Linked DNA regions of Homo sapiens: region 1 is linked to region 2. Evidence: promoter capture Hi-C in human tissues and cell types (Jung and others, 2019). All regions are on one chromosome and are shown on one strand. The core of a region is centred on a gene start or on the middle of the fragment in contact, and the rest is flanking DNA. Distances in the headings are between cores, read along the strand shown. Region 1 holds the start of LOC124900989 (a long non-coding RNA gene). Region 2 holds the start of SREK1 (splicing regulatory glutamic acid and lysine rich protein 1).

The links. The method cuts DNA at HindIII sites, captures the fragments that hold promoters and counts their contacts. A contact is called where the count stands out against the background at its distance.
Region 1: a contact is called between a fragment that was not itself captured here and the fragment with the promoter of SREK1 in region 2, in 1 of the 25 tissues and cell types used here (hippocampus).

The regions. Positions count from the first base shown.
Region 1 is chr5:67,360,561-67,366,746 of GRCh38, reverse strand. LOC124900989 (a long non-coding RNA gene) reads left to right here and starts at 444. Exons shown (of 2, transcript XR_007058799.1): 1 at 444-693. The HindIII fragment of the contact is 4,893 bases long and covers 1-3,886 here.
Region 2 is chr5:66,139,807-66,145,640 of GRCh38, reverse strand. It overlaps SREK1 (splicing regulatory glutamic acid and lysine rich protein 1), which reads right to left and starts at 1,341. Exons shown (of 12, transcript NM_001077199.3): 1 at 1,104-1,341. The coding sequence starts at 1,264. RefSeq lists enhancers at 601-650, 711-770, 1,031-1,310 and a silencer at 1,491-1,560. The HindIII fragment of the contact is 17,400 bases long and covers 1-5,834 here.

The sequences.
Region 1 (6,186 bases), core at 191-2,690, 1.2 Mb before region 2:
AAACCTAAAGGAGGGGAATATTTTTATATGTATCTGTGCATTGCTATTCTTCGCCATTACTGGCACTCTTTCTAGAAGCCTCATGAGAAGGAGACAAAAACAAAGAAGTTCTGAATCTGCATCTGGAAGTATCACACAGAGGGGAGGGCTTCGCTGTATTGGGGTTGAATAAGGTGCTGATAAGCCAAGTATTATTACCTGCGTGTGTAGAGCTTTGACTATTTCCAGCACGTCGCTGAGGACGGAGGCTTCTCAGTGGCGGTGCCAAGGAAACTGTTGGAGGTTGCCAGTCATTTTAGAGAAATGCCATGGAACGCAGCATGCCAGATGGCTACTGATGAAAGTGATGAAGGTTCACGCTTAGAAATGAAGTCCAATTCCATATTTGGTCCTTCTTTCCTTCCTTCTCTTTTGAAGGCATAAGACAGCACAAACTCAGCCTTATTCTACTCTTGCCCTACAAAATTGCCATCATCCTTTTCTCTTTTATAAAGTACTGGAGAGATACAGTCAAGTTACATCTGCTTCATTCCCAAAGGCTCAAAGGCTCCCCCGGCCCATCTCTCGCTGCACCAGGCCCTTTCTCTCTTGACCCTTCTTACTCCTCTTCTCACTCCTCCTTTGCCTGCCAGGAATCACTGTCAACAGAACCCACGGAGGGTCGGCTGCCTGCCGGGGACTAGTTTCTGTAAGGTAAGCTTTTCCCATCTCTACATCTCATGGAAGAAGAAAAAAGAAACGCTCCGCTGGAAATGTTTTATGATGACCCTCATTTGTAGAAGAAGTTCACCTTTCCTCTTTTGAGGATAACCATAACCTCCAGCCACGTTTCCTTTCTCTAACCAGTGCATGATATTAGGGTTAAATGCTTCTTCCTCACTCCCATTGTCCTGGTGGAGGGGACCCCACTGGGGTTACAATGCTGGTCTGGCTCCCCGCCCCCCACCCTGCCTTTTCGCACTCTCCTGGGGGAAGTGGAGTGGTAATGAGGTAATGGGGAGAATAAACACAGCCTGCTTCTCCCAGCACCTTGCTTCTTTCACACCAGGGGCCACGCCTCCACCGCTCCTCCTGTCAGGGCTTGGGTGGGTGAGTGTGCTTAGTCTTGGCTCAGCATCCCTAGGTCATCTAGTCACTAAGGTGACATTTCGATTCTCTGTTATTAGGTCCTCTCAAAGAACCCCCTGCAGGTAAGAAGTAGTCATATGAACTCCAAAAGTTAGCCTTCACTCTCTCTAAGCAGATTCATGTCAGACAAAACCTTATATCCATTTCTGCTTTTTGGCTTTGAGGTACAGGAGGCCTTACGAGGAGAAAAGGAAATGGCAGCACATTTCTCAGTCCGTCCTGAGGACTGTAAGAAGGGCTTAGATGAAACATAACAAGTTAAAAGAATTCCACATTTTGGTGGCTTTGATTCTTGTCCTTCAGAATGGGTTAAACACACACACACACACACACACACACACATTCTGACATTTGGAGGTTCTGAGCCTTGGGTCTCTCCCTTCCTCCCACCTAGCATGTCCTCATAACTATATCTCGAAAAGCTATTCTTAAAGCTTTCCAAGAAGTGTTCTCTCATCTACAGAGTAATGTCTCCTTCCTCTAGTTTTCCACTGTACTTGCTCTAACGGCATTTGAATGAATGAGTGAGTGAATAAATGAATGAATGTGTAATGACGAAAGAAATGGAATATCCTTTGCTTGCCCATCTACAGAAGAGAGATGGAGCCTTCCCTGTTCCTCTTCAGGGTTACTTTTCCTCTGCCACTTTAAGCTCCATCGAAATGCCTCAGGGGCTGCAAGAGTCCAGAGCTCTCCATAAAATAATCTAATAAAAACTGTGAAGAACAAGGCAGCTCAGAAAATGCAACTTCATTTTCATCACCCTGGACTTTGCTTTGCATTGCCTTGGACTCTTGGGTCAGCATAAGGTCTGTAACCTTTAGGGCCTGGAGCCTTTTTGTTTAGGCCAGGTAGCTCAGCTGCCCAGCCTGAGACCAGGTCTCCACTGGCACAGGATGGTGAGGCAGAGGGCAGTGTTCCAGACGATTCAGAAGAGCAGAAACTAAACTTGGCTTTTAAAAAAAGCCCGAGGAAAGCAATTTTGATGCCTGGATAATCACCCCAGTTGCTTAAAAAGCATGCCAGTGGAAACCTGTCCCAGGGGTTCCAAGCTTAGGAAATACAGTGATTGAAGCTCCATCCAGAAGGAGGGTAGCAAGGCAATTAAGCAGAGGAACAAGTGGGACCTTTGCCTGGAGCAACTTCTGTTCCATCAATTGAGGGAATTTACTTGCCCTCAAAGGAAGGTTATTTTAGCACCTGGCATCAGAATTCTCAATATATGAGCTTTGCAGTCTCCTTTGATCTGAAATTACTAGTTCCTGGATTATCAGGCAGTAACCAGGGAAGGGAACATGTTCTCTAGCTGCACTTGGCTCATTGGCTGTGATTAGCTCAGAGAGCTGCAGCCCCCACGTGGTTAACCTACTTCAAGTATAGGTTTACTCATCACAGCTTCCTTCTAAAAACTCAATTGGACAATATTTTGTCACCTTTAAGGTCAGACTATATCTATGCCATAGGTTACCTTCAGCTTCTCCCATCTTTCATCCCCCAGCCCTACAGTGATGTCCTCAGTGATATGGTGCCACCCAAAGAGGCCCAAGGTATTGTTTTGTTGTGTTTTGTTTTAGAAGGAGAAGGACTTTGGGTTTCTAGTTTCAAATCTCAGGGGTGTGACTCAAGTAATTTTACTTCTCAGTTTCCTCCTCTAAAAAACTAAAATTGCAAAACATAATCTCATACATTTGTTGAGGACCAAGTGAAACATTTTATGTCAAGGACCAGAACAGTGACTGGCATATCATAAATGCTCAATAGATAATTGCTCCCTTCCTCACTCTTTCCCCCAAGTAGGCCCTGGAGAGCTCTTCTGGACCAGAGGCTATGGTGGTGCACTCGTGATAGCCGATTGTTAAATCTTCAGGAATTGTGTGATCCAGTTGATCAGTTTGATATTGGCTGTGGTGGAAGCATTCACATCACAGAAATCAGCAAACACAGTAAGTCAGAGCTTCCATCCACTCACCCAGAGATTTGGTTCATCACCATAGCACCACGTAGTTAGATCACCTAGAACCTTTCTAGGTTTGTATTTCTAACAATTTGCATTTCTAAAAATGCAAATTAACCAGTCACACCCCAGACCTTCTGCATGGAAGAAATCTGTGTTTTAACAAAGCTTCTTAGTAAGTGTGCCTGATATGTTCAATGACTAGCAGGGAGATGAGTGTGGGAGGAGTGAAGTGAGCCAGACGAAGAATAGGAAGAGATATGGTCAAAGAAGAGATAGGGTGGTGGTAGGAGCAGGGAGTATCGTTGGCCATTGTAAGAATTTTCACTTATGTTCCAAGTGATAAGGAACCCACTGGAGGGTTTTGAGCAGAACGTAATGTCTTTTAAATCTCATTTAAAGGGATCACTCTGGTTGCTGTGTAAGGGTGATGAGAGACGACAGTGGCTCAGACTCAGATGATACAGAAATACATGGTGAAAAGTGGTTGGATTCCAGATATATTCTAGAGATAGAACTAATATAATGTGTTGATGGTTTAGATGTGGACAGTAATAAAAAGAGAGAAGTAAAGGATAATTCAAAATTTATTTAGTCTGAGAAGCTGGACAGATTTTTACTAAGATACAGAAAAGAAATAGGCTGATGGAAGGTGGAAGGTTGGTGATTAGGAAGTCAGTCCATTTTGAACATATTGGGTTTAGAAAGTCTATTAGAAATCAAGAGGAAATGTCAAGGAGGCCATTAGATATGAGCCTGGAGTTTGGAGGAGAAGTTGGGTTGAAGATTTACCTTTGGAAGTCACCAGCTTCCAGATGGTATTTGGTGACCTGTGATAAGATAGCTCAGTAAAAGAATCAGATAGAGAGAAGTGGATCCTAGCCCTGGAAAGCATGGAGATCTGGAAGATATGGACAAACTAGCAAAGGACACAGAGAAGGAGCAATCAGTGAGTATTAGTTCAATACATATTATGGTAGCAATCAGAGAGATGAAATAATATACTGCAAGTGGCTGTGTTACTTTAGTTGTGTGTCATTTCCTAGGGCCTCCTGTATAACTTAACTATGAGTGTGTAGTGTAGAGTTCACTCACAGCCTTCTGAATGAACGTACTGGATTCCGAAAGCAGTGTGGAGTTACATGTGAAGGCTGGCCCACTGAGCCAGTCTGTTCTCCCTTTACCCACTAAGATCCTGCAGGACTCTCTTCTCCCTAAGTAATAGAAGAGTCATTACCCCAAAGCTAATCGCAGCCATCAGCTGGCTCAGCAGATGAGGCTGACACTGTGCCTGTGTTTGTGAATGTTTTGGTTTATCAAAAAGAGCATGCAATTATCTTTAAAATATAATTCTCTGTCTTTAACATAAGCCAGAACTGTCAAACCTCCTTAGGCCCAGAGTGCTTTTACAAGGACAGTTTATTCAATTACCTTTTTAAGCTTTTAAAAGTCTGTGACTGACTCATTTGAGCAAGTGAGGAAAAAAGACAAAACATCAGTATCTCGCTGGAAAAATACTGTGGTTATTGGCACTGAAACAAAAATAACGCTCTGATCAAGGCATTGTGTTACTCAAATCAAGTGTATGCCTCACCTTTTTCATAAGAAATCTTCCTGCATTGGGAACTTCATGAGTCAGAATATTTGTGACCTACAGTGTGGCCTTGGACAAGTTCATCTCACTGTCATTTTCTTTTCAGGTAAAATGGGAACAATAATACCGACACAATAACACGTGTGTGGGAAGCACCCAACGCAGTGATATTCAATAACTCCTTTTCCATTGCCCTTAAAATATACACGGCCACAAGTGGCTTACATGTCTGTTCCACACTGAAAGAACTGCTGCCACTGCTGTCTGTCCTATCCCATCCCAACCATCCAGTCCCTCTCCAATCTGTAAGGCATGTACTTGGGATCTATTTTACCAAAGCAGGGCGTTCTGACTAAACTGTTTATTTGAAGAGAATATTAGGACATAGTCTCATCAAAACTACTATGAACAAAATGAAAAATGACTTTAAAAAATTGGCTTATGCCTGTAATCCTAGCACTTTGGGAGGCCGAGGTGGGCAGATTGCCTGAGCTCAGGAGTTCAAGACCAGCCCGGGCAACATGGTGAAACCCTGTGTCTACTAAAAACACAAAAAATTAGCAGGGCATGGTAGTACGTGCCTGTAGTCCCAGCTACTCAGGAGGCTGAGGCACATGAATTGCTTGAACCTGGGAGGCAGAGGTTGCAGTGAGTCAAGATTGTGCCACTGCACTCCAGCCTGGGCGACAGAGCGAGACTCTGTCTCAAAAAAAAAAAAAAAAAAAAAAAAAATTACAAAGTGATGTGCAAGGCAGGAAGGCAGACATTGCTGACCTTCTACTTTATCCATGATCCTCACCTCAACCCTAAACCCCTTTCTCAAGAGAAGGAGTGAGGATGGCTATTTCCCACATTCCTTGAGAGTTTTGCTAAACTGAAAATTTAATGCTCACTTTCATAACCTAGTTGAAACATATGGGTAAAGGTTCCTTTCAAAGTAACATGCACCCATCTTTGTGGTTGACAAGGAAGCTGGTGACAACCAAGTAAGGTATTCTCAGATGCCAAGCCATGCCGAGCAAAGCGGCCTTGCTCAAGGTGGAAAGCCAATGAAGCAACTTGCTAGGGGATGCACATCTGAGAAGGAACCAGCCGAGCCTCCCATCCATAGGATAAATTAGTATGAGGATCATTTTAAATGTAATTTCCCAAAGTAGTTCATTCTCTCATGTATCACACTTTTCCAAGGGAGACCTTTCATCTTACTTCACTCTGGCTCCTTCTAGAAATATTCTTAGAGATGAAAAATATCATAGCAAGCAGCAAGCAATAGGGCAATTGTGGTCACTGTCCTCTGGGAGAAGGAAACTCAGATTTTACCAGCTCAGAAGAAAATCCAAAGGAGTTGTTTTCTAACCACTCCTTCCTTCTTGAAGCTCTCCCCTCTCAGCCTCCTGGAGTTGCTCCTGCTTTTATGATTAATTATTTTCTGTTTCCTCAGTGAGTTCCCCTGCCTCTGCCTACCTCTTCTTTCCTCATGCTACACATACTCACTCTCACTTTCTCCACC
Region 2 (5,834 bases), core at 92-2,591:
TGAAATATTCCAAAACAAAAAGCAGAGAAGAAAAACTTAAAAAGTAAATTTTAAATATCCACACAACTTTTATATAGTTATGCAACAGCACTGTTATAACCTGAGATAGAAAACTAAAGAAAAATAGGTCTAAATGCATCACTAGGAAATAAATCAAAATTTTTTTAAAGAAATAAATCTTGGGTAACAATTACCCCTTCCCTCAAAGGATTTTGATATAATGAACAAAAAACGGAGGATCTTAATACTGTAAGATCTACCATTAAAAAAGAAAAAAAGTTTGTGTGCAAGAATGTGAACAACCTACAAACCCCTTGCGAGTTTTCTAAATAATATCGTACGAGGGAAATTTTACCATTCCAAAATACACTATCTGGGAAGTGGCCGCGAGCTGTGAATGCCAGCCAAGATCTGGACTTTAAATGTATACGGGAGGGATAACCCTGCACCGACTTACACTTTTTCTGAAAGCTTTGGGACAGTGTGACCTTTCAGGAGGAAAATTTAATCTGCTGTCAAAAGGGCTAACAGACATGATCTTTGGGAACATGGATGCGCTCGGTTAGATAAACCAAAATGCTAAGTTTGTGCGACCGTCCTGGGAAACAAACACAGCCCCAGTTCCATCTTGTCACCAGCAGCAGGCTTTCTCGTCAGCAAAACGGCCTGACACCAAGGCCTTAAAAACTGGACTGTGGCTCAGGCGCGGTCTCCGCGATTTTCAGAGTGGAAAAACGCTCTGAGACGTTTGCCATGAGGGCTGTTCCGGGCCCACCTGCGGCCATCTTAAGTTCGGGGGGAAATAAGAGGGTGGGGGCACGGAATTCGAAGACCCAGCAGCGAACACAAGTCCCGGAGGCACAGAAAGGGCAACCATTCTAAATCCTTGGTAAGGGCTCCGTGCAGTAGTTAACCCCCCAAATCCGACTAAGGAGAGCAGGACGGCGGAACCCGGGTGCCCTAATCAAATATGGGCACCAAGGTAAGCCGGCGCGATCACGTGACATGCACCGCGCGCCCGCGTCCGCGCTCTCCTCCACGCCTCGGCTCCCGAGGTCTCTATGGCGCCCGCGCCCCTCCCCCAGCCGAGCTCCAGCACTTACTCCGGGGGGTAGAGCCGCAGCTCCTCGATTTCTCCTAGGAAGGAAAAAAGCGTCCGCATCTGCTCGCTGGTCACCGCCGACGACAGATTCGTCACCTGAATCACCGACGTGGGGGTGAGGCCGAAGCCTAAGCCCAAACCGAAGCCGCCGCCGCTGTTCATCCCGATCCCGCTGCCGTTGCCTTCCCGCTCCCCAACGTCTACGACGCGTCAGCGACGGAGCCGGGAAAGCGGAGAACGCGCGGCCGCGAGCGCGCTCCCGCTGGCGAATTCACAGCGCCGGGCAGATCTAGCCGCCCATTTCACAACTCCCCTGCTCCCGGGGCTGCGCGCGCCAGCCGGAAGCGTCGCCCCGGCAACCCGGCGGTTCTCGCGCGGCTGCGGCCTCCAGCTCCCGGGTCCCTGGGGCTGTTGCTGCTCGTTTCACCGCCTGGATTTTTATCGGTGTTTTTGTTTTCCCCAAAAGTCGATGAGAGTCTTGTGCTCATGTCTACCCGGTTCCTTCCGGTCTCGGATTGGGAAACCAAGCGGCCTGGCCTACTGGTGCGGGACTGTAAAGAAGGAATGACTCTTGGACAACACGGAAGAACACTTGACCAAACTATAGGGCAGCCTTATCACATACAGGCAGCACCCCAACTCCAACTATTTTTAAAAGTTGGCAGGCGTCCTAATTGTGAAAAAAACAAAATTTTACAAAATGCGTAGGTTCAGGTTGAATTAAGGAAAGAGGCAGTAAGATGAAGGCTGTGCAGGGGTTGTTTATAACCTGTTTTTAATTCCCTCGTTCCACAGGTGTTGATGTTTATTGAGTGCTATGTCCCAGGCACTATTAGGCAAGGGCACGTAACAGACAGTTAAAGACAGTTCACATAGAACTTGCAACCTAATGAGAGACAACAGTAGTGAGTCCATGGCAGCTGCTCCCAAAATGCCCTCCGCAGATCCCTAAGGGTACCGAGACCTTTTCAGTAAGTTGGCAAGGTCAAAACGATTTTCGTAATAATATTAAGAGTTTCTTGACCTTTTTCACTTTGTTGCCATTTGCACTGGTAACGTAAAAGATTAAACTGCTGACACCTTAGCAGCAATCAAGGCAGTGGCGCCAGTCTTGTACTGGTAGTTGCATTTTGTATTCTTCACATCATACAACATTTAAGGTTTTAAAGTATGCTAGTTTCACTTTAAAAATGTCCTTCACAAATAACTAAAAATTGTATTTTTTTTTCAAATCCATCCTTGCTTACACGTCTTTTAAAGAATATGTGTGAAAAAATGGAAACTACTGCCGCTACATGCCCAAGTGAAATGGTTGTCTCCGGAAAAAGCACTAGTGTAATTCTTTGAATTTTCACCTAAAAATACAAATTTTATTACACTTGTATCCACCAGCTTGAGCTTGACAGCTTGCCAGTACTTAAAGACTTTTCTAGTAAAAGAAGCATTATATTAACAATTTATTTTTGACTATATAATGAAATATGTCAACATTTTTGTGATCTTTACAACTTAGTGGACACCTATTTTTCAAATGGCCAGTGGGTGCCATTACAAAGGCAAAAAGCCTCTGGTATGTGCAAGATAGATTGATGGATTTCAGTGCTTAATTGATGTGGTTTCAGATTCAGTCCACACTGCAATGAAGGCTAAGAAACTACCACATGTAAGTTTGGTACCGTATCAAAGAATAATATCTAGAACTATCTGGAAAGGCTATAAAGTAGTTTTCCCTTTTCCAACACCTTATCTTTATGAGATCAGATTTCCCTCATATATTTCAACCAAAACATATCACAACAGATCGAATACACAGAAAACTCATGATCACAAAGAAGGAAACGTCAGTCACTGTGGTCTACTTGAGGGTGGAGGGTGGAAGGAGGGAGAGGAGCAGAAAAAATTATTGAGCACTGGGCTTAATACCTGGATGATGAAATAATCTGTACAACAAACCCCCATGACATGAATTTATCTATGTAACAAACCTTCACATGTACCCCTGGACCTACAATAAAAGTTGGAAAAAAATAAAGAATACATAGATAGGAGAATTCAGCTGTCTTCTATTAAAGCAGACATTAAAAAGGTTTGAAAAATGTAAAACAATGCCACTCTTCTCACCAATTTTTTGGAAAAATATTTTATCATAAAAATGCATCATTTTGCCTTCAATCTCGGTTTCTAAGAAAAAAATGCGTCATTTCTATTAACATAATGGGCTTATAATTATTTTTAAATGAATCTCAAAATACCAAATTTCTCAGGTTTAATTTATAATGTGGATAGTAATAAAAGCATTTTACAGTCCTTAATAATCTTTAAGAATGTAAAGGGACTCAAGACCAAAATGTTTGAGAATTATTATTACCATAGGTATAAGCATGGAGGAATTCAGAGCACACAGGAGGGCCTCTTAAACTTAGTTCTAATGGAATACTTCCCAGAAGAAATATTGCTTAAGCTGAATATTGAACAAATAGGAATTACCCAGGCAAGGAGGGAAGGAGGAGCAGTGAAGGGCATTCCAGACTGAGCATGTAGAATATGCAAAGGCAGGGTTAAGGTAAAAGAGAGCTCGAGTGAGGTACAGAAGATTCAAAGTCTGTTATTGCTGGGCTGAAAATGACTAGAGATGCATGCAAAGGAATAAGCCTTTATGAAGGGTATTATTTGTCATGGTAGAGATTACTTTATCATAAGCTGGGAGCCACTGAAGACCTCGGAGCTGAAGAGTGACCCTGATCAGATTCATGTTCTAAAATGACTGGCTATGTGCGGTGGCATATGCCTGTAATCCCAGGATTTGGGGAGACTAGGGCAGGAGGATTGCTTGAGCCCAGAAGTTTGAGACCAGCCTGGGCAACATGGAGAGACCCCGTTTCTACCAAACAATAACAACAAAAAAGTAGCCAGGCATGGTGGTGCATGCTTGTAGTCCCAGCTACTGGGGAGGCTGAGACGGGAGGACTGCTTGAGCCTGGGGGTTCGAGGCTACAGTGAAAATGAGTTGTGATTGTGCCACTGCACTCCAGCCTGAGTGACAGAGTAAGACCCTGTCTCAAAAAAGAAAGGAAGGAAGGAAGGAAAGAAAGAAAGTGATGACTGTCACTGCAACCTGGAGATACATTGGAAAGGGTTCAGACTAGAGGCAAAGAAACTGGGTAGGTTATTGCAATAATCTGAATAAGCTATAATGAGGTCATGAACAAAGGTAAGAGGTGGTAGTAATGGAAAGCAAGGAACAGCCCCAAATTTGAGAATCACTGAACTCATTTGAAGATAAAAGGAATAAAAGCTGTCCACTCAGAAAAATATATATGGACATAAACTCACTTTTAGCTACAATTACTGATGCTTTCTGGTCCTCCTGAAGTCCAACCATAGATCTCTCGGATTAACAACTAGTTTTGAACAATTCTCAGACTTTAGTGTGCATCAGAATCAGCCCGTGGGCATGTTACAACAAATTGCTGGTCCCATCCCCAGAGTTTCTAGTTCAATAAGTCTGGAGTGGGGCCTGAAATTTTAATTTCTAACAAGTTCCCAGGTGAGCTCCTTCTTGTGGTCTGCAAACCCCATGTTGAGAACCACTGGTTTAGAAGGTTGTAAAAGCAGTATTCTTAATGGACTTAATCTACTCTTAATAGTAAAGCAGAAGGAGGAGTTTAGATTTATGTCTTGGAGAATTAAGTAAACAGTGTCATAATTTAGGTCCAAAAATATGAAGGAAGAGCAGCTTTGGGAGGAAAGAGCAGAAAATATTGAGATCCCTTATGGACAACATTCTGAAATGAAATTTAGGAAAAATGTCTAGAACTAAGATATAGCACTTGACTTAAGATTGGGAGGAGATATAGATACACCAGGAATGTTTGTAGCAGGAAAAGTGCTGTGGACAACATTAAACAGACAAATACAACAAATAGCCAAAAAAAAAAAATCAAGCCCCAAGGAAAACTGGGAGGGAGGATAGTCACAAAATTTAAAGGAAGAAAAAGGTTTTGGCTCTAGGGGGTATTGTTGTTTTTGTTGTTGTTGTTATAGAGATGAGGTCTCACTATGCTGCCCAGGCTGGTTTCAAACTCTTTCGTGTGGAGAAGAGGTAACAGTATCCCTCTATAAATCTCTCAGGGAAACTTACCAAACCTGGGCCTGTTCCAGCCCTGCCACTCTGGCCAATGTGACTGTTCTACCATGGACTTCTGAGATACATTTTAAAATTCCAACCTCCATGCCATGTTCTGCTTCCAAACTCTGTAATCATTCTCACGGCTCCAATTTTCAGCTATTTCTTTATCTCCAGGCCTCTTGATTTCATCTGCATGCTAACCCAACACCTTCAAATACAACATCATAGGAATAGTGATGGCAAAGTTTCAGTGAAAAAAATAAAAAGAGCTCCTCACAAGGAGGCTCAGGCCCATAAGAGCCAACCAGAAACCAAAAATTCAAAAAAGTAAACCCCAGTAAATACAGCAACAGAAAAAACCAAGAGAAAGATGTACATGATAGATTTTAGGTACTTACTAGACTGAGAACCAGGAGGTGACTTTGGAGAGAGCAGTTCTGGGGTGTACAGGGACAGGAAGAGAATGCTAGAGCTGGGAAAGTATATAAGATAAGTGTGGGATGTACTTACAAGAAGAGGCTTTGATGACTGTTAGTCTTCTTGTTTTGGTTTTGAATGAGTGGGATCTGCTATGAATCTACTCTATGGAATCTGAAAGGAAAT